Linked DNA regions of Homo sapiens: all the other regions are linked to region 3. Evidence: promoter capture Hi-C in 16 types of primary human blood cells and fetal thymus (Javierre and others, 2016). All regions are on one chromosome and are shown on one strand. Each heading gives the region's core, a stretch centred on a gene start or on the middle of the fragment in contact. The rest is flanking DNA. Distances are from core to core; before and after follow the strand shown.

Evidence for each region. Contacts are between HindIII fragments. The CHiCAGO score rates a contact against its expected background, and 5 or more counts as called.
Region 1: a contact is called between the fragment with the promoter of EVX1 here and a fragment that was not itself captured in region 3, in 2 of 17 cell types (naive B cells and total B cells). The highest score is 27.9, in naive B cells.
Region 2: the fragment with the promoter of HOXA2 here is called in contact with a fragment that was not itself captured in region 3 in 6 of 17 cell types (total B cells, naive B cells, fetal thymus and 3 more); the score reaches 13.3 in total B cells.

What each region holds. Positions count from the first base shown.
Region 1 is chr7:27,241,169-27,244,132 of GRCh38, reverse strand. EVX1 (even-skipped homeobox 1) reads right to left here and starts at 1,331. Exons shown (of 3, transcript NM_001989.5): 1 at 676-1,331. The coding sequence starts at 1,102. It overlaps EVX1-AS (EVX1 antisense RNA), which reads left to right. Exons shown (of 4, transcript NR_120507.1): 2 at 2,123-2,218; 3 at 2,492-2,584; 4 at 2,683-2,704. RefSeq lists an enhancer at 836-1,713. The HindIII fragment of the contact is 5,233 bases long and covers 1-1,680 here.
Region 2 is chr7:27,100,953-27,104,354 of GRCh38, reverse strand. It overlaps HOXA2 (homeobox A2), which reads left to right and starts at 1,672. Exons shown (of 2, transcript NM_006735.4): 1 at 1,672-2,245; 2 at 2,890-3,402. The coding sequence starts at 1,855. RefSeq lists an enhancer at 998-1,837. The HindIII fragment of the contact is 6,069 bases long and covers 706-3,402 here.
Region 3 is chr7:26,373,651-26,377,012 of GRCh38, reverse strand. It overlaps SNX10 (sorting nexin 10), which reads right to left. Exons shown (of 7, transcript NM_013322.3): 7 at 2,630-3,362. All of the region lies in intron 1 of SNX10-AS1 (SNX10 antisense RNA 1), which reads left to right. Among named protein-coding and RNA genes, the nearest start is that of LINC02981, 23 kb to the left of the region's middle. RefSeq lists a silencer at 124-333. The HindIII fragment of the contact is 715 bases long and covers 1,694-2,408 here.

The DNA.
Region 1 (2,964 bases), core at 82-2,581, 870 kb before region 3:
CTCCAGCCCCCTGCAGCTCCTTTTCCTTTGGGTGGAGAAGTGGGACTAGGAAGGAAAGGGGAAGGGGGGAGGACCCGATCTCTGCCTTTTCAAATGCAACCGGAGACCAAAGGCAATTAGACCATTGGGACCATTTCCGACCTGGCGCCGCGAAGCCCGGGAAGTGACAAGGTAATTTGGACCTCTGACCGACGTGCAAACTGGTCGGAGGGCTGCAGCACCCGGGCTGCCCAAGTGGGCCGCAATTTTACGGTCCTTTATGGACTCCTGGCTTCCGCGCCTCCATGCCTCTTACACCCTGCCAGCCACAAACTGCCCGGATCGGCGTTTGATCTTGCCCTCGCCTGGGGAAAGTGTCTTCCCCGAGCAATTGAAGCATTCCCCGAGCAGTTGAAACACTGGGTGCTTGGGGTGAGCTTCGAATCCCCCAAGTCCAGGACTTGCATCCGCCCCCTCAGCACCCCGCACTCAAGGCACTGCTGTCACCCTCAGTCCCGCCAATGCCAGAACACAGTAGGAGACCCCCGCCAGAACGCAGATAGCAGAGAGAGTTGCTCAGGTGGGTCCCCCCAGCCATCCTGCCCTAGGGGAAGGGAGTGTCTTCCTCCTGGCCTGCGCCGAAGTGAAGGGTGGGCGCAGTGGGAGGCCCGGGGAGCGGAGGGGCACGGTGGCTACCTTTGCTGTGCTGGTACTCGGCGTTCCCGGTGGCGCAGTCCGGGGTGCAGCTCACCTCGATTTCTTCATAGAAATCCGACTCGGTGTCCGAGCTACTGGGTTGCCCCTGTCCGGAGAGGCTGTCGACTGAGGGGGCCGGGGGTCCTGGGCCGAGCATGGCCGCCCCAGCTACCTGGGGCTCGGCGCCCGGCCCCGCCGCGCTGCCTGCGAGTCCATCTACCGGCTCCTCCTCCGGGCCTCCCCCGCCGCGCTCCCGGGTGGCCGGAGGGACGGCCCGAGGGCTCAGGCAACCACGGGGCACCATTTTCTCGGGCGGCTCCGGCAGCGGGCTGCCCACGGCTTCGGACAAATTTGAGACTCTCTTGCCAACCAGAGTGCCAAGCTGACCCCCATCCAGAAACACAACCATGTCCTTTCGGCTCTCCATCCCGGGGCTCTCCGGTGGGGGAGGGGAAAGCCCCAAGTGAGTTCCTAACCCCGGCTCCCTGGGTCTCCAGCGGCCGGACGGATCTTGGTTGCAAGAGGGAGAAAGAAAGGCCGGGTGCCTGGGAGGGCGCGGAGCTGCTGGAGCGCGGTCTGGACCGCGACCGCGGCGGTGGCGGTGGGAGCTAGGGTCACCTTGTGAAGCGAGCGCTCCTCTGTGCCGCACCGCCTCTGGGAGGAAGCCCCATTGCCCTCTTCTTTCTAAGCTGTCATCCTCCTGCTGCAATCGTCATTACAGTACCGCTGGTGACGCCACTCGGCGAGCGCAAGTGGATAAATAGAAACGTCTGCCACAGCGAAGATGAAAGGAAACCCGCAGCTAATGGCTCGGCAGTGATGCGCCAGGTGTGGGCCTCGCTCGATTGGGGAGGAGAGTGTGAAAACAGACAGAGAGACACACACACTGAGAGAGGGAGACACCCAGGCAGAGGGGATGCAAATGGAATTCCGCAGAAAGAAAAGAGAGCTTAACGCGCGCGGCGAGTTCCGCAGGGGCAGCGGGACTCGGTAATTAAATAAGCTTTTGATTTTTTCTTTTATTGTTGTTTTGACTTTTGTTTTCTTAACTTGGTGCCTTGATCTAACACCGATGAAAGAATCCATAACTGCATTTTAGAAGTGTGAAGCCCGGCTTACAAGCCTCAATTCTGTCGGCATTATTACAACTGTCTGCCCCTGGCAGCTAACCTCAAACTGGCTGAAAAGTCTTTTTACAAGCTACGGAAAAATGTATTCCCCCGCCCCAAGTTGACTGGAGAGCTTGAGGCTGGGCCATCTTTTCCTCTTTTCTCCTCCCTCTCCCTACCCACCTCTGTCTCCTTACTCCTGCGAACCAAACTTTGCTATTTTTCTTCCCTAAGGGGCAAGAAATAAATACCTTATTATTATTTTTTAATTTAAAGACCCGCCTTGGCTTCTGTAAGAGTGTGTGCTGATTTCTTTTAAATACCTCCTTCCCATCTAGATGGCCTTAAGTTTTCCACAGCCTGGCTTCATCTTGAGATGGCTATTCGTACAAGAAGTCGCTTTCCCGTTTGCCTGGACCTCGCCTGCACTCCAGGTATGTTGGGTGGGGAGAGTTTCTAAGAGTTGTCTTTTTTTTTCCCTTGCCCATATTTTAAAGTATTCGTTCAGAATCAGCGAAGTCTCCTGGAAAGAGGTTTTTCGAATGAAGAGGCGCCAGGAATGCGGCCCCTGCTGTGGCAGTACTGGAGGCCCCTACTTGGGAGAAGGCAGTAGCTTTCACCGCGCTATTTTGGGCAGGGGTTCAGCCTCCCCGAGTACAAAAAGGTTGGGGTTCATAGAGGTTTGACTCATAAGGTCCTCTCCCAAGTCCCTGCCTAGGGGCAGTGGTACCTGTCTCCAAAAGTGGATGGCGTTTGAGGTAGAAGAGAGTGAAGTCGCTGAAAATGCCCTAAAACAGCAAGTAAGTAGGGACTCTGATGAAGGGCTGGAGGTGGGGGCAGGGGTTGTGGAACTTAATATCTGGAAGCTGCCATAGGCCTCTCTTGGCTCCTCTCCCAGGGAAGAAGCTGGTATAAAACTCCTTCAAACTGACCCTTTTTGAGCTCCAAGCAAGTGTGCTGGGGCCAGGTGGGTGGGCTGAGTCTATCCCCACATTGCTGAGAGCAGGAGGTGGGCACCTTCTATGCTCAACCCCCCTTTCTCCGCCTCCTCCCGAAGAGCTTCTAGCCCTAGGCAGCCAGCTGCAAAGGGCAGCCCAGCACCTCCCTCCTTTCTGTGTCCCTAGCAAAGCCCCAGCTTTTACAGGTAAGTCCTCTTCCGTGACCTTTTTATCTGTTATCT
Region 2 (3,402 bases), core at 423-2,922, 730 kb before region 3:
AGGAAGCAAAAGCGAATCACCATCCTCAGGGTTTGGGGGGGAAAGAGGTACCTCCAGATCTACCTCTCAGCCTCCTCACCTCTTTCTGGCTTGGTGGATTTTTTAAAAATTATTTTTTGGTACCTAAAGGTGTTATCTTTTGAACCCTCTAGCACTGTCCAAGATGCGCTCAGTCTCAAGTCTCCGAATTGGAAAAAAGATAATGAAGGAGAACGAAAACCTTTATAATTCCTCCTTGGGTCGCCTCCTCTCCCCCGCAGTGCTGTTTCCCACAACAGAACCCGGAAGCAAACATCCCCGGTGCCCAAGGATCAGGAAGGTGTGGGAGGCAGTTCAGGCTGCCAGGGAGCACTCGCTGTATCTAAACCAACCAGCCCCCAACCAGAGCGACAAGGACAAGAAGAAGGGTAGAAAAAAAAGAGAGAGGGAGGGAAAGAGAGGAGCAAGCATCTTCTCTTTCCCTGCTGGTAACTTCCAACAGACTTCCTGGAAATCGGAAATACTCACCGCACCCGAGCCCTACGGGTATGAAACCCAGAATGCCAGGAGCCGCACGCGCCTGCTCGGGGCGGCATTTCTTTGGCTGGCCGCCGCCCTGGCTACGGGGATTTGGACACATGGACCTGGGGTTGTTGTCTCGCTTGGCACATGCATCTTTCTCCAGCCACTCCTGAGAAGTTGATGGCGCAGGAAGGTCGGGAAGCTTCGAGAGCCGCCTCCCGTTTTCCGCTTCCCGCCGGAGCCAGATGCAAAGCTGCCGTGGAATAGCCTGCTAACAATGGGCCCGGGGCGCAGACTCTGGGCTGGACACTGGGAGGGGGGCGAGAGGCTGAGGGGAGAAGGGGAGGCGGACAGAAGAGAGAGGGAGGGAGAAAGGGGGAGAAGAGGAAAAAGAGGGAAAGGGACAGACAGGAAGGAAAACAGACCGAGAGAGATCAGTTTTGAGATCCAGGAACTGCTTTTAGGAAAAGTGAAGGAGGAAAAGGGAAAGAAAAGGAAGACCCCTTCCCAACCAAAATCTTTCCTTTCTTCTCTCTTTTCTGTCTTCTCTTTCTCCATCTCTCAAACTCTCTCTTCTTCCCTCTCTCTTTATTCTCCCTCTCTCATCTCCTCTCTTCCTCTGCTCCTTTCTCCTGCTTTAACAGAACTTATGTGGCTGGGACGCAGGGCCCTCGGGTGTCAAAACTTTGAAGATTAATGGATTACTTTGTTAATGACTGCAGGCGTCAGACTGAGGTGCTTAAATGATTTGTGAGGTGCGAGGCGTCTTCCCGACAGTCCCAAACAATGCGCGGAGTGTGCGGGGGAGGCAGAGGGCAGCCACCGGCGGGACCGACAGCAGGGCTTACACTCGCGCACATTCACACACACACACACACACTCCCAGGCACACACACTAGATAGATCCTTGCAGATCAGGAGGCACGCAGGCACCCTCGCCCCCACGTACTCCGGGACATCCCCACCCACACCAACATATATGTATTTTTGCTCTGAAAAAAGTGTAAATAAAGCCTCGCTGGCCCCCAATGAGGCGTTCCTTCCCGACTTTTTTGGATCAATCAAACAGACAGTGGCTTCTTTTGATTAAAGCCCAAATTGTCATTGGGCAGAAGCAATCATGTGACAGCCAATTCGGTCCAATTTCAACCTTGTCTCCATGAATTCAATAGTTTAATAGTAGCGCGGTCCCCATACGGCTGTAATCAGTGAATTAGAAAAAAAACACCCTAGCAGCGATATTCTATGATAGATTTTTTTTCCTCTGCGCTCGCCTTTTTCCTAGGCCTTGCCCCCCCAAAGCCCCTCCAAAAGAGGGAACTTTTTCTCTGAGGGGGCTCCAAGGAGAAGGCCATGAATTACGAATTTGAGCGAGAGATTGGTTTTATCAATAGCCAGCCGTCGCTCGCTGAGTGCCTGACATCTTTTCCCCCTGTCGCTGATACATTTCAAAGTTCATCAATCAAGACCTCGACGCTTTCACACTCGACACTGATTCCTCCTCCTTTTGAGCAGACCATTCCCAGCCTGAACCCCGGCAGTCACCCTCGCCACGGCGCTGGCGGCCGCCCCAAGCCGAGCCCCGCGGGCAGCCGCGGCAGCCCGGTGCCCGCCGGCGCCCTGCAGCCGCCCGAGTACCCCTGGATGAAGGAGAAGAAGGCGGCCAAGAAAACCGCACTTCTGCCGGCCGCCGCCGCCGCCGCCACCGCCGCAGCCACCGGCCCTGCTTGCCTCAGCCACAAAGGTCAGTCCAAAGACTTGGCCCCAGGTCTCTGGGACCCTCTTCCTTCTCCGGGCTGCCCCGAGAGTGGCTGTGGGGGGAGGGGAGAGTGGGCTGGGAGAGAAGGAGGAGAGGGAGAGATGCTTGGTTGCCTTGTCCCTGCCCCTGTGGGTTCAGGAGTGGGTTTGATGGAGAGGAAAGGGGATCCTGCGCTCTACAATGAGACATATATATTTTTAGGAAGTGGGGGGAAACTTTCCCGAACTTGTGTAATGTGGGATGATTTATTTGAGTTGGAACTGACCTCCTCCTGTCTAGTTGTCCTAGAGTTTGGCTTTTTGACAGTAATGAAGAGTGATAGATCGCTCTTGCTCAGCTAAGCAGCTGACGCATTAATTATAAATTGTGTTGTGGCTAATATAAAGTTTGCTCCCGGATGAAGAGGTTGGGGGGAGCCACAGGCATGAATTCGATAGAGATGGAGGAGACGGGGTCTGCCCAGGCTGGGCTCCCAGGAAAGGCAGCACAATAGCTCTACTGCATCCAGGGGCGGCCATTTTGTTGCAGTTGATCTTTTCTGCTATATTTATTCTCCAGTGGAATAACCCCGCTCGGACCCCTCCACCTCCAACTGTGCGTGTGTCTCTTGTTGGTTTCCCTTTCCGCAGAATCCCTGGAAATCGCCGATGGCAGCGGCGGGGGATCGCGGCGCCTGAGAACTGCTTACACCAACACACAGCTTCTAGAGCTGGAAAAAGAATTTCATTTCAACAAGTACCTTTGCAGACCCCGAAGGGTGGAGATTGCAGCGCTGCTGGATTTGACTGAGAGACAAGTGAAAGTGTGGTTTCAGAACCGGAGGATGAAGCACAAGAGGCAGACCCAGTGCAAGGAAAACCAAAACAGCGAAGGGAAATGTAAAAGCCTTGAGGACTCCGAGAAAGTAGAGGAGGACGAGGAAGAGAAGACGCTCTTTGAGCAAGCCCTTAGCGTCTCTGGGGCCCTTCTGGAGAGGGAAGGCTACACTTTTCAGCAAAATGCCCTCTCTCAGCAGCAGGCTCCCAATGGACACAATGGCGACTCCCAAAGTTTCCCAGTCTCGCCTTTAACCAGCAATGAGAAAAATCTGAAACATTTTCAGCACCAGTCACCCACTGTTCCCAACTGCTTGTCAACAATGG
Region 3 (3,362 bases), core at 802-3,301:
TCCTACCACCAGGCGCGACCGTCCCCTCCCTCTCCAGACGGAAGGGGCCAGGTTAACGCAGCCGCGCGCCCGCCGGGCAGGTTAGGTTCTCGGGGGCCTAGAAGGGAAAGGGGTTAACTAATGTGTGCGATGCGTGTGCAGATGACAAAATTTAGGGCACGTAGAGTTTGCCCGGCCCCACCGCGTCCGCTCGCGGGGACCCTCGGGGGCCGGGCCCCATGGGGCCGGGGCAGCACGGTGTAGCCCCTCCTCCGGCCGGGCGCGAGCGTCTGCAGAACAAAGCCTGGAGTCCAGCCCCGGCCCCGGCGCGGCCGCCCCTCAACCAACCCCCAGGCGGCAAGGCCCTCTCCACGCGCGCTCTCCAGCCTGGCGGGGCCCTGGAAGCCGGGACACGCGGAGGCCGGGAGGGTCATCGGCGTTTAAGGCAGCCTCCCACACCAAGTGCACCGCCCGGATCCCCTCTGCACGAGGGCTTTCTGCTTATTGCTCTTTTCCCCAGCAGCCAGAATCGTCACCGTAGCGCGGGAAGGGGCCTCGCGGGCCGTCTGCAGCAGGTGCGGCCGGGAGCCGCAGGCCCGCGCGGTAAATCGCTGTCTCTTTGCGGTCGTTGTTCCCATTCACCGCCCGCCGCCCCCCGCCCCACCACGGTTCTTTTTTTTCTTTCCGCCGCGCAGTTGCCATGGGTTACCAGGGCGGTTGCCATGGGTTACCGGACCGAGGCCGGCTGGCTCGCTACCTGCAGCCCAGTCGCCGCCGCCAGCGGAGCGGCCCGGGCGGGACGCGGCGGGAGCGCGCGTGTGCGGGACGCAGCGCGGGGGATGCGCGCGGGCCGCGGAGGCGCCGCAACCAACAGGCGGCCGAGGGTGCAGCCGCGGGAGCGCCACCGCCAGTGGGGTGGGGGGCAAAGCTATAAAGAAGGCCCAGAGGTAAGAAACTAGCAAAAACACAACCACAAGTTATGCCCGTGCTGTGCCTCTAGCAGCAAAGACAAGCGGTGTGGGGTTGGATGAATCTACACTTCTCGTCGGGGGAGAAAGGGTATTTTCCTCTTTAGCATAAGCCATTTACATAGTGTCTTTAGACCAGAGTTTAAATTCAGCAGGAAATTGTAGCTTAATGGTTTTTTTTCTCTTTTCCTCTATATCTTTTGAAAAGAAGTCTTTGGAATTTTGGAGAAAGAGAAAGGGTCATTAACTACCAGAGTTTGCGCAGCTAAAATAAATTAGTGTCCAATGCACTGCTCATGATCTAGAAAAGTTTGCAGTAGGAGTGAAGCGCAATTGTGTCTGCTAAAAAGGGACAATGGTGACTCGTTTGTAAGATGCATATGGCAAAGAATAGAACCAAAGTCCTTTGTATATATAGCAAATGTTAAAGAAATTGTTGCTTATTTACATCCTTCTGAAATTTTTGAACTCCACTCTATTAAAATTATTAATTTCTTATGACCTTTATTTGCAAAGAAAATTCTATGCTTTGAATGTCAAATTGCAGTAACTAATTTCAGACAGTATTTTGTATTTGAAAATGTGTTTATATATAATAAACTAAGAAAAGGTCTATATTCCAAACAAAAACACAAAATTGTACTGAAATTGTTTCCTTCATTGAAAAGATGTTGCCTTGTATTCACAGGATACCAGCTAAGTAATTTAAATATTAAGAGGAAGACTATTTAGAAACAGAATAAGCTTTGTTATTTTCGTTTAAAATGTTAAGGGGCCTCTAATGAAAAGGGGTTGTCTTTTATAGCTCAAATACTGAAAACCTTATTGGTATCACAGTAGCTCAATAATAATGAATCCTTAAGGCATCCAACAAATACAAACCAAATTCAAAACAACGTCCAGTTTACTGTTGGATATAACGGTTATTGTGGCCAGGCTAAATGAAGTTGTTTAACTTCTTAATTGTCATAAAAGAAACTTTGTTCTTTTACTTTATACTGCATATCACTTGTTTGTATTTAATTATTCAATAAAATGTGGACTAGGTTTGAAAAACTGGCAAGATACTTCATATCTTAAGGAATAGTATCTGCTTAAAAATAAATACTTGTTTGTCCCTAGTAATTTTTAAAACTTGAAATTTTAACTAGAATTAAGTAACTTTCTTCTAAGTGAGACTTTATAAGAAGCCGAAGTAACAGGTTGTTGACGTTCAGTGCTGTTGACACCTTTGGGTTATATATAAATCTAGTTCTACAACAAAACACGTAAGTTGGCTTTATAGGTGAATAGTTTACCCTTTAAGAATCAGCCAGGGAAAATGCAGTTTTGCTGTATTGTAATCATAAAGAATCCAGGATTAGAATTCTTTACATTTAAGTCACATTAAAAATAGTGTTAAATAAACATCTATTCAAGTTAGCTACATCAGTAATTATTTTCTTTTTCCTAAAGAAAGCTTTATAAAAAATATGCCAGAGAAAAATAAGAGACAAAGCAAGAAAACCACTGGGAACTGAAGTTCATCTAAATATCTCAGCTGCAAGAAATCAGTTTTAAGAAGCCAGTGTGTGGACATTGAAACAACTAAACCAAGGCTAAAAGCCTCAAATATGTACAACTATAGCTAATATTAAACCATGTTTTACCAAATTTCCTCATAAAAAATAAAAAACACTGAGTTTGGGTCTAAGGCAGAATATATTCTCTTGTATAAAATAAGTGATCCGGCAAAGTTGATTTTTTTTCACGTTTAATGTAAAAATGATCTCGTGACATTTACATACTAAGTATTAGGCATTACATAATATTAATTTTGATGGCTATGTTACATCATCTAAAAATAATATGACAATTGGTGGCATAGTATGTGTTTTTCAAAACTGCTGTAAAACAGAAATAGTGTGAACTCAAATACATATTGCTGAAGGGATGAGGATCGCTCTTAAATGCCTGGATGGCATGAACTTTACATATTAGCATGGTAAGAAATTACTAAATCTTTTCTTTTCCTGTATTAAAATAATGAGGATCTAAGACACATTAAATCAAAATATTTACAAAAATTTAATAATGTTTTAGACCAAAGAAAAAAAGGACAAATTAAAGAAATCATTCTTATTCTAAATTTAATTTTTTTAATGTTAGTTCTCAGTTTTCTTAGCTTTTTTTTCTGTTGGTTCTTTGAAACAAGCATTGTAAAGACTTTTTAATAATACAATAGCTTTTAAACTCTTAGTGAAAATGAAAAGGTTGCTTTTTGTAGTAGCCTCTGCCACTCTTCAATTAGGCTGGGTAACAAAGCAACAAGTTATCCTAGTTATCTGAAAATATCTTCCTGTTAGTTTCACAGAAATATTTTGTACCATTCAACATGGATGAAACTTGGGTAATTATCTCAAGAAAATGTTGCCT